Regions from separate parts of the Homo sapiens genome. Here all the other regions are linked to region 3. The links are contacts of gene promoters, found by promoter capture Hi-C in blood cells and fetal thymus (Javierre and others, 2016). All regions are on one chromosome and are shown on one strand. Each heading gives the region's core, a stretch centred on a gene start or on the middle of the fragment in contact. The rest is flanking DNA. Distances are from core to core; before and after follow the strand shown.

What was found. The method cuts DNA at HindIII sites, captures the fragments that hold promoters and counts their contacts. A CHiCAGO score of 5 or more calls a contact.
Region 1: a contact is called between a fragment that was not itself captured here and the fragment with the promoter of SLC22A13 in region 3, in 1 of 17 cell types (M1 macrophages). The highest score is 5.5, in M1 macrophages.
Region 2: a contact is called between a fragment that was not itself captured here and the fragment with the promoter of SLC22A13 in region 3, in 2 of 17 cell types (erythroblasts and M1 macrophages). The highest score is 5.3, in erythroblasts.

The regions. Positions count from the first base shown.
Region 1 is chr3:38,474,217-38,477,744 of GRCh38, reverse strand. ACVR2B (activin A receptor type 2B) reads right to left here. Exons shown (of 11, transcript NM_001106.4): 2 at 251-458. Among named protein-coding and RNA genes, the nearest start is that of EXOG, 20 kb to the left of the region's middle. RefSeq lists an enhancer at 694-1,193. The HindIII fragment of the contact is 9,698 bases long and covers 1-3,528 here.
Region 2 is chr3:38,101,413-38,104,895 of GRCh38, reverse strand. All of the region lies in intron 19 of DLEC1 (DLEC1 cilia and flagella associated protein), which reads right to left. It overlaps LOC105377033 (a long non-coding RNA gene), which reads left to right. Exons shown (of 2, transcript XR_940727.3): 2 at 1,103-1,406. Among named protein-coding and RNA genes, the nearest start is that of ACAA1, 34 kb to the left of the region's middle. The HindIII fragment of the contact is 1,256 bases long and covers 1,246-2,501 here.
Region 3 is chr3:38,263,985-38,267,294 of GRCh38, reverse strand. SLC22A13 (solute carrier family 22 member 13) reads right to left here and starts at 1,483. Exons shown (of 10, transcript NM_004256.4): 1 at 1,057-1,483. The coding sequence starts at 1,434. RefSeq lists a silencer at 2,203-2,497. The HindIII fragment of the contact is 6,926 bases long and covers 82-3,310 here.

The DNA of each region.
Region 1 (3,528 bases), core at 24-2,523, 210 kb before region 3:
GGTGTGAACTCACCTCCCCTACAGGAGACCCAAAGCCAAGGAAGAACAGCCAGGGGTTGACACTGAGACCCCTCCTCAGGGCTAAGGTAGGACAAATAGGGTGTGGAAGGGCGTGGGGCCATGGCTACCATCTCAAGAGCCCCTTCTTGGTCCTTTATCTCCCACTCAGACATCCTGAGACCCAAATGGCCCAGTGGGCAGTATAAGCGCAGGTGGGTCCAAGAGGAAAGGAGGGCAAGTCTTGGGGTACCTATCGTAGCAGTTGAAGTCATCTAGCCAGCAGCCCTTCTTCACGAGCTCGATGGTGCCAGAGCTGTTGCGCCAGGAGGCGTAGCAGTGCAGCCGCTTGTCCTGCTCGCCTTCGCAGCGCTCCAGGCCGCTCTGGTTGGTGCGCTCCAGCTCCCAGTTGGCGTTGTAGTAGATGCACTCCCGTGTCTCAGCCTCCCCACGCCCAGAGCCTGTGCCCCAGAGAAAAGAGAACCACTGAGCATGCCCCTGGGACCACCACCCAAACCCCTACTCCCAGTCCTGGGTGCCAGGCCACCCTGAGGGAGGGAGGCCGGGTGGTGGGTTGGGGTCACCAACCTCCTGCACTCACCCCTGGACGTAGGCCACCCATCCGTCCCACACCTCTTAATTTACGTGTGCCAGCTGGCACCAGCCCCCACCTCATTCTGCAGCCCATCACAGCTGCCCCTAGGCCTAAGCAAAAGGGAGGAGGCAGGAAACCTAATGCCACAGAAGGATGGATAAACAGCCAGACAGACAGAGTCCAGATGCACAGAAAGGGCACCAACACCTGAGGCTCCTGCGTGGGGGTGGGGGCTACTTCCCTGCTGCAGCAGAAACCGATGAAGAGGCCCCCTTAAAACCCCAGTGCACATCGGAATCACTGTATGTTGCAGGTGTGGGAAAGGGGAGCAGTGTTCATTCAAATACGTATTTCCAGGCCCAATCCAGACCCATCCCAATGGGAATGGGGGCAGAATATGTGCTTTTAATCACCCCTGTCTGTCTCAGGTGATTGTGATAAAGATCTCAAGGACCACCTGGGAAAACTACAAAGGGGAGTGGCTTCCTGCTGCTCCTGTCTCTGCCCCCAAGCCCCCTTCTCACAACAGTTCCCCAGGGAGACCATGCCAGTGGGTCCTCCACAACTCCCTGCCCATACGGAATGGAAAGGACCCTGTAAGTGTCCTTTCTACACCCAGCAACCACACCTGGTGCTCGGCAGGGCTGGAGAACTTAAGGAATGAGGCCTGCGTGTACAGGGTAAGCCTCCCAGAGTCACCAAGGGGAATACATGCCTCAGGCAGAGGAGAGCTAGCTGGTGGCTTAACCTGCAATCACAGATCATTCTCCTGGCTAGGCTCCTGATGACCCCAGGGCACTCCCCATCACTTCTGAACCCCCTTCCACCTGCTGCAGGAAGTGCCATCCAGGTGGACAACGACTTCAACCCCCACCTGCCCATTCAAACACTTTCCTTCAAACTTGATTTCAAACATTCCCCAAATCCATCTTCCTCACCATCCCCTACAAAACAACCTCCAGTCCCAGCCCCAGTCTACTCCCACTACCCGCAGGAACCACATAGCCCTGACATAGGAAAGAGTATGGAGATGCCAAAGGAGGTTCGGTTCTGTCTGAGAGCTCTGCCAGCACCCCATTATAGGCCGCCCACAATGGAGGCAGGTGGTGGCATTTACAACCTCACTGCCAGAACCCCACACAGACACCCGAGAGGATAGTTGCACCAAGCATCCAGCCATCCTATCCACACTTTTTGGGCCCACATAGGCCAGTGACCTGGCACCACTCCTGGCTGGTCTTCTCCTACCACTATTCCCATCCCAGGAAGGAGGGAGGGGTCAGAGTCAATCCCACCAGACAGCCAGCCCACCAGCAGCCAAGAGCCCTACTTCGCCATCAGCCTGAAAGGCTGACTGGAGTAGGAAAGAACACGAACCCTGCCCTGACCCTGGGGGAGGGCAAAGTACCCTGAACACTAGCGTAGCCTAAGGACATCCTCACGCTCATCTCCACCCCTACTGTTGGCCTTCATGAGGAAAGAGCTTGATTTCCCAGGGTATACCCCAGAGAGAAGGATACTGACTGGCTGTCAGGTGAAAGAAGCCCCCCACCACTGGAGCGGCCATTCTCCTGTCAAACCCAACCCCTTTCTGCAACTCCCTGAAGTGACAGGATGCTTCTTCCAGGGGCAGGAGCAAGCAACGAATCTCAAGGATCCAGGTAGCACCTAAGGGTCCGAAATGTCACCCAATCAGAATGGCAGTGCCCAGCCACAGCTCTGGTCATCCTGCACCAGGTGGCCTAGGCTCTGACACCTGTGAAAGGAAAATGCATGGCCTCCTGACCAGTCAGTCAGCTGGGACTCAGCCTCTTCTAAAGGAAGGGCCTCAGGGTCCACAGAGAGGCTTACAAGGGTACACACTGGCTTCCCCAGCCAGGCCCTTCATCAAGCATGTGGCTTTAAGGTTTAGAGGGAGAACCTGAGAGGGTGGGGTGGGGGTAGTAGACCAAAGGCTGAACAAGCACACCGGGGCCAGGACTGAGGCTTGCACCTACATTGTCCCTGTCTGCCTGCAGCAGCACCCAATTACTGGGTTATTCGAAGCACCCTGCCCAGAGGCCACAGGGCCTCCTCTCCCCAGGCTGGGCCCCACTGCATCCACGGCAGCAGTTCTAGTGGGGGTCCGTGGAGACCTGAGACTTGTGGGGCCAGCCATGAAGCTGCACTGCAGACAGGGAAGCTGGGCACTCCCCTACCTTCCTCCCCTCACTGCAGCCACACCATAATGTCACACCCTTGAATGTGTTTGGCTTCTAGGCTTAGCGTAAGTCGGAAGTTACCACCTCTGGCCGTAAGGTTACCCACCTTCCTCTGATTTCGGCTCTTCCCTCTCCCCTGAGACCAGGCAAACTCTCTATTTCCACTGGCCCTTGTGCTTCCCCTGCCACCTAACTTAACCACCCTTGACTAATGGCCTGTTGTTGCTTAAAGGATTATTTCAGACATCCAAAAAGTGTACCAATAATATAACCAAAAATAATCTCAAGAGGAAATAACACAATGAACACTTGTATGAGAAATAAAACATTACACATGTACTCGACAACTACTTTCTAAATGTCAGGCTTTCCCCACAAGACTGGAAAGCCGACAAAGGCAGGACCCTTGCCGTCCTAAGTGGCAGAATCATTCCAAACACATCATAGATGGATGGGTGGACAGACAGAAGGACAGAAGGGTATAGGTATCATGGCTAGAGCAACATGTCGAAAGGAGGGGACAACAAGGATGGCCTCAGCCTGCAGCCCAAGCCCTAGGTCCTCAAAGAGTTTCCATCTCCATTCAGACAAGCAACAAGCCTCTGTGCTGAGGCAGGAGCCCAAACAAGGGAGGCCAACAGAGTAACCTCCTCTCTCCAGGCCACTGATAAGTCAGGGACCACCCACTTGCCACTACCATGGGCAGTACCCAAGTGAAGAGGCTGGGAGTTCCAA
Region 2 (3,483 bases), core at 624-3,123, 160 kb after region 3:
AATCAAAAACCTCAGCTTTTACCTTAAGAAACTAGAAAGAGAAGAGCAAACTAAACCCAAAGCAAGTGGAAGGACAGAAATAATAAAGACTAGAAAGCAGAGATAAATGAAATAGAAAATAGAAAAACATTACAGAAAATCAACAAAAGCAAAAGCTGGTTCTTTGAAAATATCACCAACATTGATAAACCTTTAGCTAGACTAGACTGACCAAGAAAAATTTGCTGAAGATTCAAATTAGAGAAATCAGGAATGAAAGTGGGGACATCACTACTGATCATACAGAAATAAAAATAATTATCAGAGAATACCACTAACAACTATGTACCAACAAATTACATCACAGATAAAATGGACAAATTCCTAAATTCCTAGAGTGATGCAAACTACCAAAACTGAGAAAAAAAAAAAAATCTTTTTTTGGGGGGATGGGGTGGGGCATACAGAGTCTTGCTCTGTTGCCCAGGCTGGAGTGCAGTGGCACAATCTCGGCTCACTGCAGCCTCTGCCTCCCACGTTCAAGCTATTCTCATGCCTCAGCCTCCCGAGTAGCTGGGATTACAGGTGTGCACCACCACACCCGGCTAATTTTTGTATTTTTAGTAGAAATGGGGTTTCACCATGTTGGCTAGCCTGGTCTCGTACTCCTGACCTTAGGTGATCCGTCCACCTCAGCCTCCCAAAGTGCTGGGATTACAGTCATGAGCCACTGTGCCTGGCCAAGAAAAAAGTCTAAATTGACCTATATAAGAAATTCAGTTACAAACATACCTCATGTTATTATGCTCTGCTTTATTGTACTTCACAGATACTGTGATTTTTACAAATCGAAGGTTTGTGACAACGCTGCATTGAGCAAGCCTATCAATGTCATTTTTCCAATTGCATGTCCTCATTTCATGTCTCTGTGTCATGTCTTGCAAACTTTTTTGCTATAGCTGTTATGGTAACCTGTGATTAGTGATCTTTGATGTTACTACTGTAATTGTTTTGGGGTGCCATAAACAGCAATCATATACGATAATGGGCTCAACTGGTAAATGCTGTGTGCATTTTGACTGCTCTACTTACTGGTCATTTCCGTCTCTCTCCCTCTCCTCAGGCCTCCCTATTCCTTGAGACACAACAATATTGAAATTAGACCAACTGATAACCCTACAATAGCCTCTAAGTCTTCAAGTGAAAAGAAGAGTCGTACGTATCTCACTTTAAATCAAAATGATTAAGCTAAAAAATGATTAAGCTTAGTGAGGAAGGCACATTCAAAGCTGACACAGGCAGAAAGCTAGCTTTGTGCCAAACAGACAAATTGTGAATGCAAAGAAATGTAATATCTAGCAAATGCCCTATTTGTGAAAATTTTGAAGTAAAAGATAATAAAGCAAATAAAATGTTATGCAAACAAGGAAAAGAAAATAGGAGAAAGAAATAATGTGATCAGGTTAACTGATAAAACAGAGGAGAACAAAACTGCTGCTTGAAATCCCTGCACAGGTTACGTGCAATGCAATCCTTAATGATGGAATGAGGGCATCAAAGGGCGGGGGAGCTGAGCAAAGCACTGCTGAAGATCCATTGGCTTAGCCAGGTCAGGGCTCCAGCCCCAGAGCTCAGAGCAACACATGGAAGAGTGGGCTGCCCCAGGCACAGAAGTCAAATATCACATGATCTCACTCAAGTGGGTGCTAAAAACGTGTACATATGGACATAGAGATTGGAATGATAGACAACGGAGACTCGGAAGGGTGAGGGCATAGGAGGGAAATGGGTGATGAGAAATTAGTTCATGAGTACAATGTATGCTATTTGGGTGATGGATACCCTAAAGCCCTGACTTGACCACTATATAATCTACGCACATAACACAATTGCACATGTACCCCATAAATTTGTACAAATAATAAAAATTAAAATTGAAAATTAAGAAAAAGACTGGGCTGCCACAGTATTTGCCCCCACTGAAGACTGTGGGTATCACGCTGGAGAGAGGCCAGGGCAGAGCCTGCAGTAACACTGGACCTCTCAACTGTCATGAGGAGGAAACAACCAGAAAGATGCTATTCCTTCATTCTTATTTATGAATGAAGGCACGAATTGATTTGTGTAGCTGCCCAGTATGGGTTTTCTCCACTGTTTGTTTAGGGCTGTTTTCCCCAAAGGTCCCTTTCTCTGATGGATTCAGGCTAGCTGTGTGCTCTGAGGGTGGTGACTCACATGTACTTCATCCCTTAGAATAGGGGTGCTCTCCACATCTACCCCCTTTTACTCAGAAGAAACTTACAACACCAGCTCCTTATGCAAATCAACTTCCTCCTCCATTCAAAAACAGGACTGGACAGGCAAAGATTACTAGAAGCAGAAGAAAACTCAAAAAGTAAAGAAGAACTCCAACATCTGGGAAAACAGAAATTCATTTTCTTGGGGGAATCTGAGAGGCTGTTGCATTGATAAGACTATAACAGATTACTATAGAAAAGGAAAGACGCAAGAACAACAAAGCTTGAAATTTCGAAACATGATTGCCTCTTCTGGAGACAGATCCTCCCTGTCACCCAGCAGGGGAAGGGGCGGGTACATGACCCACACAAGAGCAAGAGCAATCAGGGCCTATCTCTGCAAAGAGCCAGATTGGCTCTCAGAGATTGTTAAGGTGGGAGTGTGTGAGCCTGGAGCTCTAAGTGGCCTCTCCCCAAGGCAGAGTGCGAAGGGCCCTTGTCAATAGGGGAGAGAAGGGCCCACAAAAAAAGAGCAGTAGATGGGTTGGGGCTGGGATGGAGGTAGAGAAGGGGGAAAGAGGGTAGAGAAAGAGAGGAAGCAGAAGACCAGACAAAGGGAAAAGTGTTGGGCCCTTGGATTCAGCAAGGTGGGAATGCCCAGTTACGTGAGCCAATGCTTCCTCTTTTTTGCCTAAGTTGGTAATGTCTGTGTTTCCATCACCTGCTACTGTAAACATTCTGATAATACAAGGTCCTTTCAGGAGAAAGAACAGAGACAGAAAAGGAAAGGAAATAAGCACAGACTTAATAGAAAGCCCTTCCCCTGAGCTGCAGGCAGACTTAGCCTTCACATCTAATGCCCGCAAATTGCCCTGAAGGACCAATGCAAAGACTCATACCTAGACCTGTATTTGTTATCACAGGAGGGGACATTTGAACAACTGTCAGATGGTCAAGTATACAAAGTCCAACAACATTTGTCATGGTGAAAGTGTGGGGTAATGGCTAGTCTCACACACTGTAGGCAGAAGTATAAAATGACACAGTCTTTTTGGAGGATAATTCAAGAGCATCCACAGAGATTTAAATGAGCATTTAAATGTTTTTACAATGAAACACCAAATATATGCAAAAATGAGTATAAAACATATATACAGTTTAAACATATATATAGTTTAACGAATAATAAAACAACATCTATGTACTACCTCCACACAACTTTAGAAACAAAATATTATCACCAGCCAGCTTAAGAAAATGAATATAT
Region 3 (3,310 bases), core at 234-2,733:
GGACAGGCAGGACATATCCGCAGGCTGCCAGGCTTCTGGGAGCAGTTTTATGGTCACACATTAAAAAGTGAAAGTTAAGCTTTGGTTAACACATTGGTCTCTGACAACCTCTAAAAATAAATACTTTTTCAGCCATGGGGTGGGGAAGAAGTGAATGTTTAATCCCAGATTTTCCACCATAAAGAAGATGAGAATTATACAGATCCCCTCAAGCACCCATGCCCCTCAGGTTTCTGGACTATCTGTGCTGCCTCACACTCCTGTGGGAATCTAGACAGCAGGTATCTGGCATGAGAGCCCCAGCTCCATGATCAGCTCACTGCATTGCCCTGGCTAAGCCATATCCTCATTCTGTGCCTCAACCCCAACATCTGGGAAGCAACAGAGTGGGACTGGATGCTTTCAGAGGGCCCCTCTTGCTCGGAGGTGGCTAGGATGGGAACTTTTCTGCCTGCATCTCTCCTAAAAGAATGAAGTTAGCAAGAATGAACGCTTAGTTATCCACAGGACAAGTCCTAGAGTCCTGGATGTTCTCCAGCGTCCCAAGGGCAGGCTGGCAGAGACCTAGAGAGAAAAGCTGAAAGTTTTGAAGCCCAGCAAGCAGGAAGGCAGTGAAATGGACAGGGAAAGGGATGGCATTAGAGGGTTAGGAAAATAGGAACATAGGCAGACATGCAGGGGTAGACTGAAAGACAAAGAGAACTGGACAGACAGATGAGCACACTGGGTAGAGAGAAAGGCACAAAGATAGGAAAAGAGGAGAGGACACCAACTGGGTAGATAGCCAGAGAGACAAGGAAAGACAGAGACGACAGAAGGATGGGCAAAAAATGGACAGATGGGCAGACAGACTGGACAGAGAAGATGACAGACAGATGGGTCAATAGGCAGAGGACAAAGAGGAAAATGAGATTGACAAAATGAAAAACATATGTGCCCATGGTTGACCATATGGGCATGGGGCAGATACAGAGCCAGTGACTGAGGGCGAAGAGTCAGGCACAAGACCTGACAGACCCACAACCGGTGGAGAGACCAGCAAAAGGACAAGCCTACCTCATTCTTCAGGGATGGGAGCCTGTTCTCAGGATATTCCCAGCCCATATCACAAGGCTGCGTCTCATTGAAGCGGTGGCTGAGGATGTCCTGCAGGCTGGCATTGGCGGGGGGTGGCCGGAACATGAGGCAGGGCTCTGGGTGACCTGCAGTGTCCAGGGGCACGCTCAGTACCAGCTGTTCAGCAGCACTCAGGTTGAAAGTGTGGTTCTTCACCCAAGCCACTGCACAGTGGTGGGGCTCATCTAGGACCATGAAGACATGGGCAAAAAAGTAGAAGGGAGACAGGAAGTTGAGAACACACAGCAGGATCAATAGCTGTATCTGGAAGCGACCAAAGTCACCTATTTCAGCCAGGACCTGGACAAACTGAGCCATGTATGCCAGTCACTACCTCCTCAGCCTGGGGACACTAGGGTAGCTCTGTAGCTTGGCTCTGGGAACTTGCTCCTCTGGGCAGTGGTGATAGCTGCATTAATGTTTAATCCAGCCTTGCCCTGCTCCACCTGTCACTCCTCAGCCCCCTAGGTGTGACTTGGGAAGGGTAGAATATGATGAAAAAATAGTCCACATGGATGAAGTTGGAAACAATCATCCTCAGCAAACTAACACAGGAACAGAAAACCAAACACCGCATGTTCTCACTCATAAGTGGGAGTTGAACAATGAGAACACATGGACACAGGGAGGGGAACATCACATACCAGGGCCTGTCAGGGGGTGGGGGACAAGGGGAGGGAGAGCATTAGGACAAATATCTAATGCATGTGAGGCTTAAAACCTAGATGATGGGTTGATAGGTGCAGCAAACCACCATGGCACATGTATATCTATGTAACAAACCTGCACATTCAGCACATGTATCCCAGAACTTAAAGTAAAATAAAAAAAATAGAAAAATAAATAGTTCACTCCAGCTTATAACATCTGAGGATGTTTTATTAACTGTGTAAAAGATACAGTCATCACAAGAGGAACCAAGAGGACCTTGTCAGGCCCAGCACACAGGAGTGAGCTTAGCCAAATGTTAAGATGGCTTATAGCAACCAGCCAGCCCGCACCACCTCTAATTGCAATATCCTAAACAATTCACACTCAACTCAAATGAGACAGGTAGATGGGTCAACCAATAGGCGAGGTAAAACCACTACAGTAAAACCCTGAGAGTAGTTGCAGCACTCAGAGGGACACAGAATTCCCTTCTAGGGACAGCCCACACTAGGCAGCATGGATAAGCAGGAGAGCAACAAGCACTTAGCCTGCAGATAAACTTTGCCAGCAGCCCAATCTGGCCTCTTGATCCTGATGATTTTTCTCTCCTGTGGGTGTCTGGTATGTGGTGATATGCAATACCTGCCAATCCTAGGAAGCAGCATGCAGGCCAGGAGCCCCACCAAAAGCACAAGTGCACTGTCTTTTCAACATCAAAGACAAACCAAGAATACAGAGCAATGACAGAGCTGCATTTTGAGCTCTACTTTAATCAAGAAGGAAACCATTAACACACTCTAAAGATGAAAACAAATGCACGTACCCCAGCCTCCCTGAGCAATGTCAGTGACAATGAACACAAGACAAAGTATGCCTCCACCACAGCCCACACACACACCAGGTGCATACACATATTCATGTCTGCTTGTGTATGCATAAGAAAGCATTTTCATGTTCTCAATTTTGAACTATTTTAAGGCATGAGCAGAGGAACATTGCTGAAGGGAATGCAAGGAAGCAAGGTTGTGCAGGGCAGCCCTGGCCACCTGACTGGCACAGCTGCTGGAAGCCTGTTAATCAGTCAGCCTGCAGTACAGGTCAAGGCAGGGCAGACAGTGGAGGGCAGAAGCAAGGCCTGACATGCTGCTCAGGGAGCATGCTTTGCTCTTTGCCCCACCCCAACCTCTCCCACCAGGATCACCACTGTCCCCAGCTCTTTTTTCCTTCACTTAGCTTCCTTGAGTGTTCTTATTCTTAGCATTGTCTTTATTGAATTGCCAAGAAAACAACTGCTACCAGTCACCACTGCCTAGTCTGGTATTCCCCTTATGGGGAAGAACTGAGATGGAGACATAAGCCTTGTCCTCTGCCCTCATCATCTCCTCATTCCAGTCAGAAAAGGAATTTTTGCTTTGTTTGGCTCCAAGCAACCAAGAGAGCTAGAGCTAGGAGGTAGGAAACTTGAGCTCTGCCACTGATTCACCCTGAGAATCTGTTCCTGGCTCTGGCCCTCAATTGCCCCATCTAGGTAAAGGATGGTCTC